Regions from separate parts of the Homo sapiens genome. Here all the other regions are linked to region 1. Evidence: promoter capture Hi-C in human tissues and cell types (Jung and others, 2019). All regions are on one chromosome and are shown on one strand. The core of a region is centred on a gene start or on the middle of the fragment in contact, and the rest is flanking DNA. Distances in the headings are between cores, read along the strand shown.

Region 1 (3,027 bases), core at 253-2,752:
TTCGATCATAGCTCACTGTTGCCTTGACCTCCTGGGCTCAAGCAATTCTCCTGCCTCAGCCTCCCTAGTAGCTGGGACTACAGGCACACTCCACCATGCCTGGCTAATGTTTTTTTTTTTTTTCTTTTCTTTTCTTTTTCTTTTTTTTTTTATTTTTATTTTTTGAGATGGAGTCTCACTCTGTCGCCCAGGCTGGAGTACAGTGGCATAATCTTGGCCCACTGCAACCTCTGTCTCCTGGGTTTAAGCGATTCTTCTGCCTCAACCTTCCCAGTGGCTGGGACTACAGGCACGTGCCACCATGCCTGGCTAATTTTTGTATTTTTTAGTAGAGATAGGGTTTCACCATATTAGCCAGGCTGGTCTCTAACTTCTGACCTCGTGATCCGCCCACCTCGGCCTCCCAGAGTGTTGGGATTACAGGCGTGAGCCTGCACCCGGCCCTGGCTAATTTTTTAATTTTAATTTTTGTAGAGACGGGGGAAGTCTCGCTTTGTTGCCCAGGCTGGTCTTGAACTCCTGGCCTCAAGCGATCCTCCATCTTCAGCCTCCCAAAGTGCTGGGACTACAGGTGTGAGCCACTGTGCCTGGCCAATAATGTAAGATGGGATTGTGTGGAGTAGGTGTGCCTGGGGTCTTTGCTTGCCTGCGGGGACTGAGGTGTGAGGTCTGTGGCCCAGACTGAGCAATGGTGGGCAGGCAAGTCCCTGAGCCCCTAAAACTTGCGAGAGGAGAAGTTTATAGACTGCAGCTCAGGTGCCTATAAATTTGTTGCAGCTTGGGAAGAAGTGATAGAAATTATATCAGGTGTATTTGGAAAACAGGTAAACTCTGTTTTTTGGTTTTTTTTTTTTTTTTTTTTTTTTTTTTTTTTGGAGACGGAGTCTCGCTCTGCTGCCCAAGCTGGAGTGCAGTGGTGCGATTTCAGCTCACTGCAACCTCCACCTGCGGGGTTCAAGCGATTCTCCTGCCTCAGCCTCCCGAGTAGCTGGGATTACGGGCATGGTGCCCGTAACGCCGAAAGTGCTGAGATTACAGGCTTGAGCCACGGCGCCCGGCCACTCATTTTTTAAAAACTAGTTATTAATTATAATTTCTCTTCAAGTTTTCCTGAGATGTAAAAACTCATCGCCTTCAGCTGGTTCTAAACTTCTTGTCTCTGCTAACAACTCTCCCCCCTCCTCGATCTCACCCCACCCCAGTGCACCCCAACTCACTTCATCTCACTTTACTCGAGTCTAGCACTATCTTTTAGGGACCTGAAAACTACTGTCGATAAGGTCAGTTGGGAATTTAGGAGGTCATGGATGTCGGAAATAAAGGTGTGAAAAAGAAGAGGAGGAATTGTTTTGGCTTTAAGACACCGGAACCTCCAAGGTTCCTACAAAACCGTTTGCAGCTTTTGCAAACCGCCTTAAAGTCATCAGCGCCCCACTGCGGAATTCAAAGCTAAGCTGTCACAATTGTTAACACCTTCTTTGACCAGCCTTTTTACATTTGACAATTCTCTTCAGCGCCTCTTTCCTGCCAGCAGGAAGGTTTTGCTGCCTTGGCTTTCGGGAGCCCCCTAGACAGCGAACTGCCCCTTCGCGTGCAGAAGTCGGGGAAGAGTGCTCTCAGCTCGCCTTCCTTGCAGGGTGAGTAGGTTTTGCGGGTTAGAGAGCGGGGCGTGGGGGCGGGGAGGGAGAGTAACAATTTTGGAAGTCCCTGCGTGGTATCTGGAAAGTTAACGACGCTTCAGGTTCTAGGTTGAGCCCAATGACCGTCTTGCCTTGGCAGCTGGTCCCAGGGCGATTGCAGAGCCGCGTGGCCTTCGGCCCCACTCGGGGGACCCAGCTTCGGAGAGGGCGCAGGGGCTGCGAGTCTTGCGAGCCGGAGCCGCGTCCACCCGGGACTAGGCGTCCCCGCCGAGCGCTGGCTTGTGGCGCTCCCTGGGACCGCGCGGGGTCGGGGGTGCGCCCGCGGGGGCCCTCCCACTCTGGTCAACTTTCCCGGCCCCAGGGCCGGGGGAGGCGCCTCTCCTGGCGGGCACGCGCCGGGTACTTAAGGGCGGCTCGGCTGGGCAGGCGGCAGTCGGAGCGCGCGGCGGCGCGGAGCGGAGCGGGAGGAGGGGCATGGAGCCGCCGCGGGCCTGCTGAGCTCCGGAGCGCGGCAGCCGGCGGCACGGTGAGCGCGGGCCGGCCGGCACCCAGGAGGGGAGGGCCGCGCGGGGCTGCGCCGAGGCCGGGGCGCGCCGGGTGGCAGGGGTGCCTCTCGCCGAGCCCCCCGCACCCGGCCAGCTCCCAGCCCTGCGGGCGCCGCGTCCGGCGCGGGGAGGCGGGTTGGGGGCGGCGGCAGCCCCGGGCTTCCCGGCGGCCGTTCCTGCAGCCCCCTCCCCACTGACCCCTCCTCCCTTTCTTCCTGCATCCTCTCCTCTTCCAGCCTCGCCTCCCTCCTCCCCGGCGGCTCCTGTTTTGTGAATGAATTAGGAGGCGGACGCCGGTGCGGGGCTCCAGGCTGGCTGGGGTACCCCTCCCCCGCACCTTCTACGACCTCCCGGGGGTTTGCACCTGTCCGGGCACCAAGGTACCAGGCGCCCACGTTCCTGCGGGTTAGCCGGGCCGCGGCAGCACGTGTCCGGGGGAGTGGGCTCCCCTCCCCTGGCCGGCCTGGAGGGGCCCGGAGGGCGGCCGGGCACAAGAGGAGGAGCCCCGTTGGGCGCACAAGTTTCCATGCCGCTGCGTGTGGCCCTGCCGCGGGGCGCACCTGTCAGCGGGAGAGACGCTGCACACCAGCAGCCCCTCAAAGTTTCGGAGGCTTGATGGAGAAGCGTGCGTCCTTGACTGGGGGTTCTCCTTCCGTAGTCCTGGGAGCCGGACTTGAGAGCGCCCCCAACCTTGTGCCCTTGAAAGCCGAGTGCGCGTTAGTTTGCCTGGGCTGGGCTCCCGTGGATGAGCGAAGGGCATGAGGAGGCGGCGGTCCAGGCTGTAGGATCACCCCACAGCCTCTGCCGGCTTGGGGTGACACAGCCCCCCGCCCCAGGTCTGG
Region 2 (2,938 bases), core at 377-2,876, 660 kb before region 1:
TGGGTGCCTGGCTGGCCTTAGGGTAGGGGGTATGGGAAAAGGGAAAGATGTGGGGGCATAGTGCCCTGCCCTGGCTCAGCCGCCTCCTCCCTCGGGATTTTCCATCCCGGCTCGCGCGGGCCCGCTAGAAGCCGGTGCGCTTTGTCTCCCGCCCCGCTCCTGGCACGTTTCCGTGGAAGCTGCCCGCGCCGCGCCCGAAGCCCCCCCTCCGCGGCCGCGCCCCCCGCCCAGCCCGCGGCGCAGGCCTGCCAGTGCGGCGACCGCCGCTTTGTCCTCTCGAGGATGCCTGGGCCGAGCGCGAAAGCCCCATGCCTTGGAACAGCCACCGCGCGTCCTGGAAGCAGGTCCCCGAGCCTCGGTTTGGGGTGCGCCCTGCATCGGAGCGGAGCAGCCCCCAAAGATTCGCGGGCACGAGGTTGGGGGTAGCGTCTACCTGGAGCTCTTGAGTGCTTGAGGGGAGACCCGCCCCGTCCCGCTCTGTACATGCCCATCTGGGATTGGCCCCCAGCTGCGGTGCCAGAGGCTCGGTCCCCGGGGCGTGGTGGGCTAGGGCGGGTCGTCTCGACTTAGAGCCCCAGGCCTGGATCCAGGTAGGGAGGGCCTGGGAGATAAGGCCCAGGTGGGGAGAGGTGGGGAGGGGTCCCTCCTGTCCTCGTACATCCCCCTACACTACCTCTCACACCCAGGCCACCCAACCCTCGGCGCGGGCCCGAGCGCGGGGGATTCCGAGTGTCAGTGCTTTCCTCCACCCGCGACTCCGAGAAGGATGGGGAGGGGTCTCCCAGCGTTTCCCTGCCACATTCCAATTCCACCCTTCACCAGTAACCTAGGAGGGTCCAAGTGGGAGGGGTAAGAGTCCTCTGTCTCTTCCACATCCTCGATCCTCCTCTTTACAAAACCCTAGGGCCAAGGGAGGAGGGGGGAATAGGGAGGGGGGCGAGTGTGGAGGAAGGGGCCTGGGCAAGGGTCTTCCCTGCATCCCAAGCAGCCCTTCCTGAATACCCCTGGGAGGGTCTGGGCTAGGGGAGCGGTCCGCGATCTCATCCATCACCACCAGACTCCTTTGTAACCTCGAGCAGCCGAAGTGTTGCGGGGAGGGGTCCCCCTGCCTCGAGTCCCTTCATCCCACAACACCTCATCCTCCCGTCCTGAGTAATCCGAGCAGCCCCGTCGCCAGGCACAGCGGGAGGGAGGGTCCAAGCCTCCTCGCTCTCCCAGGAGAGATGGGGGGTGGGGGTGACCCCCAGCCCTCGCCCCTCATACCCAAGAGCCTTCTCCATGATAAAACGAAAACTAACCCAAGCTGCTCCGACCTCCGGCGCCCGGCCACGGGAGGCCCCTAGTCAGTCGGCGGCTGTCCGGGACCCGCGGTCCTGAGAGCAACGAGAACACGTCCCGTCAACTCCCCAGCCCCTCACGCCTCGGTTCGCCCGCTCCCCAAGAAAACAAAAGCGAATTCAGCAGCACTGACCTCTGACGGCGGGCGGGAGGGCGGTCAGCGCCCGGCAGCGCACCCCGCTCCTCCCGGCTCCTCACAGCCCGGGCTCCCGGCCGCAGATCTGGCGGCGGCCGCAGCGGCGGCGGCTCTCGCGGCTCTCGGGTCCGGAGCCTCCCTCAGACTCAGCACCTGGAGCGGCGAACAGCTCCGCGCTTCATTCCTCTGACCCCGCCTCCCTCGCGCCGCCGGAGCCAATGGTGACCCGGACCCCGCCCAGGAGTCTGCCCATTGGGGGCGTCCTCCCCTCTCCCTCCGGCCCCGCCCGCAGGTTCCTGGGTCTCTCCTTCAAGACCACATCCCCCAGAGACCGGCGGAGTTTCGCACAGCCTTCTGGGACTTATAGTTCTTTAAGGACGCGGAGTGGGCTCACGCCGCGGGTAGGCAAACAGAGCGGGACTGCATTTCCCAGAGTGCACTGAAGACACGGAGGCGCGGAGCAGGGCGGGAGGACCGTTTCCATAGCAAAGACGACCAGCCGAGGATGGCTGGCGGAGGCGTGGGGCAGGCCGCAGGACCCTCGAAGGATCGTGTGAGACCCCGGGCAGCCTCTTGGGAGGCCATTTCGAGGAGAAAACCTTGATTTCTGCCTCAGGACCCTGGGCCTCAGTTTTCCTATCTGAGAAGAAGGGCGAAGAGCTGTGCCCCCGACCACACCCGTCGGTGATGGGGCAAACCGAGGGCAAGCAGGTTTGGTTCCTGCCCAGCAAAGGTGAGGGAGGACGGAGGAGACTCTCCCACCGCATTCAGAACTTTATTCCTTTATTTTTGTCTCAATCTTGTCATAGAGGAGCGCTTCACTTTTGGTCATCCCTTGGGCCACCAGGGCCTTCCCGTCTCCGTCTTCCCATCGCAGGTCCTGGCCTCCTTCACACCACTCCAGGATACCGCAGCATCTCCCCCAGCGCAGCAGACGGAGGGCGCTTCACATGCCCCCGGACCTAAGCCCACTCTCCCCTTCAAGATCTGGACTCCACTTTTTTGCAACACTCTTAACTTCTTTGGAAGCTGGGAAGCCTCCTACTCCCTTGGGCCTCTCCACCCTGCCCTCAGCTAACTCGTCGGCAAGCCCCAGCCTAGACATTGCCTGTTTTGTGAAGACATCTAGATGCTGGGCTGTCTGTTGAGTGCCCCACCCTGTGTTTGAGCAGCACCCTCTACTTCCCCTGTTCTACTTGCATGTTTATGTGCTCGTCTTCCTCATTATAAGATCCACAGGGGAGGGGCCATGTCTATATTATTCATACTTACAGTCCAGTGTCTAGTATCTGGCACGTAGTAGGCACTCACTAGCTATTGAGATATAAATATAGATATTTGTTGAATTGAAAATGAATTGGGCCGGGCGTGGTGGCTCACGCCTGTAATCCCAGAACTTTGGGAGGCCGAGGCAGGTGGATCACTAGGTCAGGAGTTCGAGACAAGTCTGACCAAAATGGTGAA
Region 3 (3,168 bases), core at 18-2,517, 530 kb before region 1:
GGAAGCCTAAACAAGACTTTACCTTAGCTATTTTAAAATATGTTTAAAGAACTAAATGAAACCATGTCTAGAGAACTAAAGGAAAATATGAGAACAATATTTCACCAAATAGAAACTATCAATAAAGAGGTAGAAATTATTTTTAATGACAAAATAGAAATTTGGGAATTCAAAAGTACATTAACTGAAATGAAAAATTCACTAGAGGGGTTCAGCAGCAGATTTGAGCAAGCAAAAGAAATATTCAGCAAACTCGAAGCTACGTCAATTGAGAGTTTCAGTCTGAGGAGCAGGATTTTAAAAGGAATGAAAAAAAGTAAACAGAGCCTCAGAGACCTGTGGGACACCATCAAGCATACCAACATTTGTGTAACAGGAGTCCCAGAAGAAGAGAAGGGAGGGAAAGGAGCAGAAATAATATTTGAAGAAATAATGGCCAAAACTTCCCAGATCAAAAAACATACATCTAAGAATCTCAAAAAAACTCCAAGGAGGATAAACTCTTAAGAGGTCCACACCTAGACACATCATAATCAAATTAAATGATACACTGGAAAATACTGTTTAACACAAAAGAAAACAGGCCATATCAAAAAGACATAAGACCTATAGATACAAATACCAAAATGGCAGATATAAACTCTACCTTACAAGTAAATACATCAAGTGTAAATGGATTAAGCACAATCAAAAGGAATAGATTGGGCCAGGTGCAGTGGCTCATGCCTGTAATCCCAGCACTTTGGGAGACTGAAGCTTAGGAGTTTGAGACCAGCCTGGCCAACATAGCAAAACCCCATCTCTATTAAAAATACAAAAGCTCGCTGGGTGTGATGGCAGGTGCCTGTAATCCCAGCTACTCAGGAGGATGAGGCAGGAGAATCACTTGAACCTGGGAGGTATGTGTTGCAGTGAGTTGATATTGCATCACTGCACTCCAGCCTGGGCAATAGAGTGAGATTCCATCTCAAAAAAAATAAAAAAAAAAGGCCAGGCCCGGTGGCTCACACCTGTAATCCCAGCACTTTGGGAGGCTGAGGCAGGCAGATCACACGGTCAGGAGATTGAGACCATCCTGGCTAACACGGTGAAACCCTGTCTCTACTAAAAATACAAAAAATTAGCCAGGAGTGGTGGCAGGCGCCTGTAGTCCCAGCTACTCAGGAGGCTGAGGCAGGAGAATCGTGTGAACCTGGGAGGCGGGTAATCCCTGTAATCTGGGATTACAGGCATGAGCCACTGCACCTGGCCAGCAGAATGGATTTAAAAACATGATTCAGGCCGGGGCGTGGTGGCTCATGCCTGTAATCCCAGCACTTTGGGAGGCTGAGGTGGGCGGACCTGAGGTTAGCAGCTCGAGACCAGCTTGGCCAACGTGGTGAAACCCAATGTCTACTAAAAATAAAAAAATTAGCCAGGCATGGTGGCACACACCCGTAATCCAAGCTACTTGGGAGGCTGAGGCAGGAGAATTGCTTGAACCCAGGAGGTAGAGGTTGCAGTGAGCCGAGATTGTGCCACTGCATTCCAGCTTGGGCAACAGAGTGAGACTCTGCCTAAAAAAAAAAAAAAAAAAAAAAAAAAAAATCAACTAGATGTTGCCTACAAGAGACACAAATTAAATTCAAAGGTACAAACAGGTTGAAAGTAAAAGGATGGGAAGAGATTTATACCACACAAATAGAAACCAAGAGAGAGCTGTGATGCCTATACCAATGTCAGAACAAAACAGACTTTAAGAGAAAAATTGGGCTGGGTGTGGTGGCTCCTGCCTGTAATCCCAACAGTTTGGGAGGCCAAGGCAGGAGGATCACTTGAGGTCAGGAGTTCCGGATCAGCCTGGGCAACACAGTAAGATCCCATCTCTTAAAAAAAATTTTTTTTTTATTACTTGAGTATGGTGGCGTGTGCCTGTAGTCCCAGCTACTCAGGAGGCTGAGTTGGGAAGAGTGCCTGAGCCCATGAATTCGAGGTTGCAGTGAGCTATGATTGTACCACTGCACTTCAGCCTTGGCAACACAAGATGCTGTCTCTAAAAAACAAGAGAAAACATGTCCATGCAGACCTGTACATGAATGTTTCTAGCAACTTTTTTTTTGCAATAGTCAAAAACTGGAAACAACTCAAAGGTGCATCAGCAGGTGAATGGATAAACAAATCATGATGTATCCACACAGTGGAATACTACACAGTAATAAGAAGGAATGAACTGTTAATACATACAACATGCATGAATTTCAAAATAATTATGCTAAGTGAAAGACCCAAAAGGTTACATACTACATGATTTCATTTGTACAAAATTCTAGAAAATGTACCTTTATTGACAAAAAGCCAATCAGCAGTTGCCTAGGGCCAGGAGCAGAAGGAGAGATTGGCTGCAGAGGGACACAAGAAAATTCCTAGGGGTGACAGAAATGCTTGATAAGTTGATTGTGGTGATAGCTTCATGAGTATTCACATCTGTCTAACCTCACTGAATTATATATACATATATTATTTTTTTCAGAGACAGAGTCTCGCTGTGTTGCCCAGGCTGGAGTGCAGTGGTACAATCTCCGCTCACCGCAACCTCCACCTCCTGGGTTCAAGTGATTCTTGCGCCTCAGCCTCTCCAGTAGCTGGGATTACAGGTATGCACCACCACACTCGGCTAAGTTTTGTATTTTTACAATACAATGTAAAAATGTATTTTTCACCATGTTGGCCAGGCTGGTCTCAAACCCCTAACCTCAGATGATTTGCCCGCTTCGGCCTCCCAAAGTGCTGGGATTACAGGTGTGAGCCACCACTCCCAGCCTGAATTGTATATTTTATTTATTTATCTTTATTTTATTTAATTAATTAATTTATTTATTTTTGAGATGGAGTTTCACTTTTGTTGCCCAGGGTGGAGTGCAGTGGCGTAATCTCGGCCCAGCAAGGAAGCTAGACCAAAGGCAGAGAGAGAAATGGGGTGCCCATTTGCCACTCCCGGGAGTGCCTGGCCCCCAAAGGTGCTCGCTGGTGCCCCCTCCTTCATTACTGTCCAGAGGTTGCCAGGTCACAGGCATTTCCTGGCCCAGGGATTGGACTCTGGGGTGGGGCGGGGGGATGGAGGCAACTCCACTGACCCAAGGACCCAGCAACCCAACAGGACAATGGTGAGCTTCCCAAGAAGACTGCAGA
Region 4 (2,958 bases), core at 145-2,644, 680 kb before region 1:
TCCAACATAGCACAGATGCCCCAGGGCCCAGCTTCCATGAACCCCATGTAATGATGATGATGAAGATGACAACCATAATGAAGCCTTACTCCTAAAATGAGTATAATGACACTAATGATAAAGGCAGCATCAGAGAGTGGGGGAGAGAACAGACTTTGAAGCCAGACTGCCTGAGTTCCAGCTCCACCTATCACTAATTGTGGGAACTTGGAGGTCACTTTGTTCTTGGGCTCCCTCATCTGTAAAGTGGGGATCAGAGTAGCTGATTATTGGAACATGTAGTATCCCGAATAGCTATTGCTTTTTTTTTTTTTTTTTTAAGAGATAGTGTCTTTCTTGTCACATGGCCTGGAGTGCAGTGGTGTGATCTTGGCTCACTGCAGCCTCAACCTCCTAGGCTCAAGCAATCCTCCCACCTGTCTCCCAAGTAGCTGAGACCACAGGCATGCACAGGTTTTGCCATGTTGGCCAGGCTGGTACCGAACTCCTGACCTCAGGTGATCCATCTGCCTCAGCCTCCCAAAGTGCTGGGATTATACGTGTGAGCCACCATGCCCGGCCATTATTCTTATTACTAATATCATTACTATAGGCACCTTTCATATCCATTTCATTTGAACTTCGCAATCCTATAAGGAAAAAGGTACAATTGTTATTGTCCCACTTTGCAGATGAGGAAATTGAGGTTCAGAGAAGTTGAGGGACTTGTCCAAAGACACTCAGCCTGGTACGGAGCCTATATGATCTTCCAGTTGGCTCCCTCTGGCTAGGCTAATAGCCTGGTTACCCAGGCTTAAAAGGGATGCTTCACCATTACCTGACAGTCCTCCCATTATCCCTGCCCAGCAGGGAGGGGCGTTTTATTGCCTCAACTTAATGCATGGGAGATAAGGGCCAGGTGAGTTAAGTGGCTCCTAGGCAGGCCTGCCTCCTCCAGCTAAGCTGCTTTTGAACCAGCTGATCAGGACTACTCTTCAAAATCGCAATTTAACTGCTGGGCTGCATCCATTGTTCTGTGTGTGGAGGCAGCTGCCCCATAGGCCACCTCACTTGGTGCTGTCACAGTGATTAATAAGGATATTCTGTGTTCACATGAGGCCTCTCAGTCAAGGCCTCAGAGCACTTTGTAAGCATTAATTAAGCTTCATGATGGTGACTCAGGTAGGTGGGGGCCCTGAACCCACTTCAACATGTCTTCAGCTAATGCAGAGAGAGACCAAATCGCTCCCTCAGCAAGCTATGGCCTTCAGCTCATCCAGGTCCTAGTGGGCATTCTCCATCCCTGGGGTTTGGCCAAAATCATTTGTGGAGAAAAGACTTCCCCTCTTGTCCTTCCAGACTTCAGAACAATAACCAGCACCCAGAAGCCACTCCCATTTGAGTCAGGACCAGGCCAACAGCTCTGATGGGCTGGGTTCTACCTGATGCTCATTCACTGGCCCACCTGGGTTCACAGCCAGAGACCACCAGCATGTCGGCACCAACTGCCTCTGTACACAGGGGCCCCTGGAGTCAGGCCCGTCCCTGCAACACCATCTGCACAGTATCCCCATCCTCCCTCATCTGCTTCACCCCCATTCCCAGCTCTGCCCTCGCACATCTGCCACCTGCTTTCTGTGGCTCTGTCTGGCGCTTGTGGGGAATGGCAGAGACTGTGTAACTCAAGGTAAAGAGCTTGAACCTCCACCCAAGGATGAGGGGGAGCCACAAAAGGGAGAGACGTGGTTATATGTGTGCTTTGGAATGACAGCACAGGAAGATAGGTATGTGGGGTGGGGGATGAAGAGACCAGAGGCAATGGAGCCAAAGCCAGCATGGCAATGAGCCAGGGGGACAGACTTATGACCAACCTGGCAGTGTTTGTGCAAACCACTCCCCCAGTACACCTGAAGAAGCCATGTCCAGTAAAACAATTAAGTCCAAGCCCCACTCCCTCACTCTACCACCTCCCAGACACATCTCTTTGACTTGGCTAGGGAATGAGGCCTGATACTCATAGCTCGGCCTCCATTCCTAGCCATTGACATTCCAGGGCACCATTGAGTTCGACCCATTAAAGAGTCTAGGGGTGGGCATTGTTTTTCTTCCCTACTTGCTTGATGAAACCAAGGCTTAGGGGTCCAGTGGCCTGCCTATTAGACTTGGTAGTAGCCCCTGAAAGATGTCCATATCCTAATCTCCAGAACTGGTGAATATGCTACTCTATGTGGCAAAAGGAACTTTGCAGATGTGATTAAGTCAAGCATCTTGAGATGGGGAGAGAAGCCTGGATTATCCAGATAGGCCCAACGTAACGACAAGGATCCTTTTGAGAGGGAAGCAAGACCGCTGAAGGTGGAAGAAGAGGATGACAAGGAAGCAGAGGCTGAAGCTTTGAAAATGGAGGAAGGAGCAAGGAGCCAAGGAATATAGGCAGGCTCTAGAAGTTAGAAGGAAACAGATTCTCCCCTAGAGCTTCCCGAAGGAACACCAGCCTGCTGATGCTTTGATTTTAGCTCAGTGAAATTGATTTTGGGTTTCTGACCTCCAAAACTGTAAGATAACATATTCCTCAGCATCACCAAACTACAGCAGAAATCCTCAGAAGGAGGTGGAATTTATCCTAGGTGAGGAAATATTGTGATTCTGCAGAGGCCCTCATGGAATCTGAATTAACCTCTTCCCTTGCCCAGAACTGGGAAAGCCATGGATGTTGGGCCTGGTTCTCATTTTGCTGTGATCTGGGCAGGTGCTTGGACAAGATAGACGTATAAGGCCCCTGAGCAAGAAGCTGGAAGAATGTGCAGGAAACAGAGTATAGTAAAGTGCTCAGAGGGAGGAAAAGAAGGTTTTGCTGTTGTTGAAATAAAAAACAGTACAGGCCCAGCTGCTTGGAGGCCTCCAGTCAGGTGAGAACTGGTGGTGAAGAATTCCACCTCCCACTGAGGGGTTGTTTAGTTTGATGATGCTGAGGGTTTG

What was found. Contacts are between HindIII fragments. The study calls those that stand out against the background at their distance.
Region 2: the fragment with the promoter of SMPD3 here is called in contact with the fragment with the promoter of HAS3 in region 1 in 3 of the 25 tissues and cell types used here (adrenal gland, mesenchymal stem cells and mesendoderm cells).
Region 3: a contact is called between a fragment that was not itself captured here and the fragment with the promoter of HAS3 in region 1, in 2 of the 25 tissues and cell types used here (spleen and thymus).
Region 4: a fragment that was not itself captured here is called in contact with the fragment with the promoter of HAS3 in region 1 in 2 of the 25 tissues and cell types used here (dorsolateral prefrontal cortex and mesenchymal stem cells).

Annotation. Positions count from the first base shown.
Region 1 is chr16:69,104,151-69,107,177 of GRCh38, forward strand. HAS3 (hyaluronan synthase 3) reads left to right here and starts at 1,503. Exons shown (of 4, transcript NM_001199280.2): 1 at 1,503-1,637. RefSeq lists an enhancer at 1,168-1,716 and a silencer at 1,850-2,129. The HindIII fragment of the contact is 9,378 bases long and covers 1-3,027 here.
Region 2 is chr16:68,446,882-68,449,819 of GRCh38, forward strand. SMPD3 (sphingomyelin phosphodiesterase 3) reads right to left here and starts at 1,627. Exons shown (of 9, transcript NM_018667.4): 1 at 1,472-1,627. It overlaps LOC124903705 (a long non-coding RNA gene), which reads left to right and starts at 1,959. Exons shown (of 2, transcript XR_007065097.1): 1 at 1,959-2,185; 2 at 2,284-2,938. RefSeq lists a silencer at 1,325-1,844 and an enhancer at 1,945-1,994. The HindIII fragment of the contact is 13,014 bases long and covers 1-2,938 here.
Region 3 is chr16:68,577,306-68,580,473 of GRCh38, forward strand. No RefSeq gene overlaps it. Among named protein-coding and RNA genes, the nearest start is that of ZFP90, 40 kb to the left of the region's middle. The HindIII fragment of the contact is 6,765 bases long and covers 1-3,168 here.
Region 4 is chr16:68,419,682-68,422,639 of GRCh38, forward strand. All of the region lies in intron 1 of SMPD3 (sphingomyelin phosphodiesterase 3), which reads right to left. Among named protein-coding and RNA genes, the nearest start is that of SMPD3, 27 kb to the right of the region's middle. The HindIII fragment of the contact is 3,675 bases long and covers 1-2,958 here.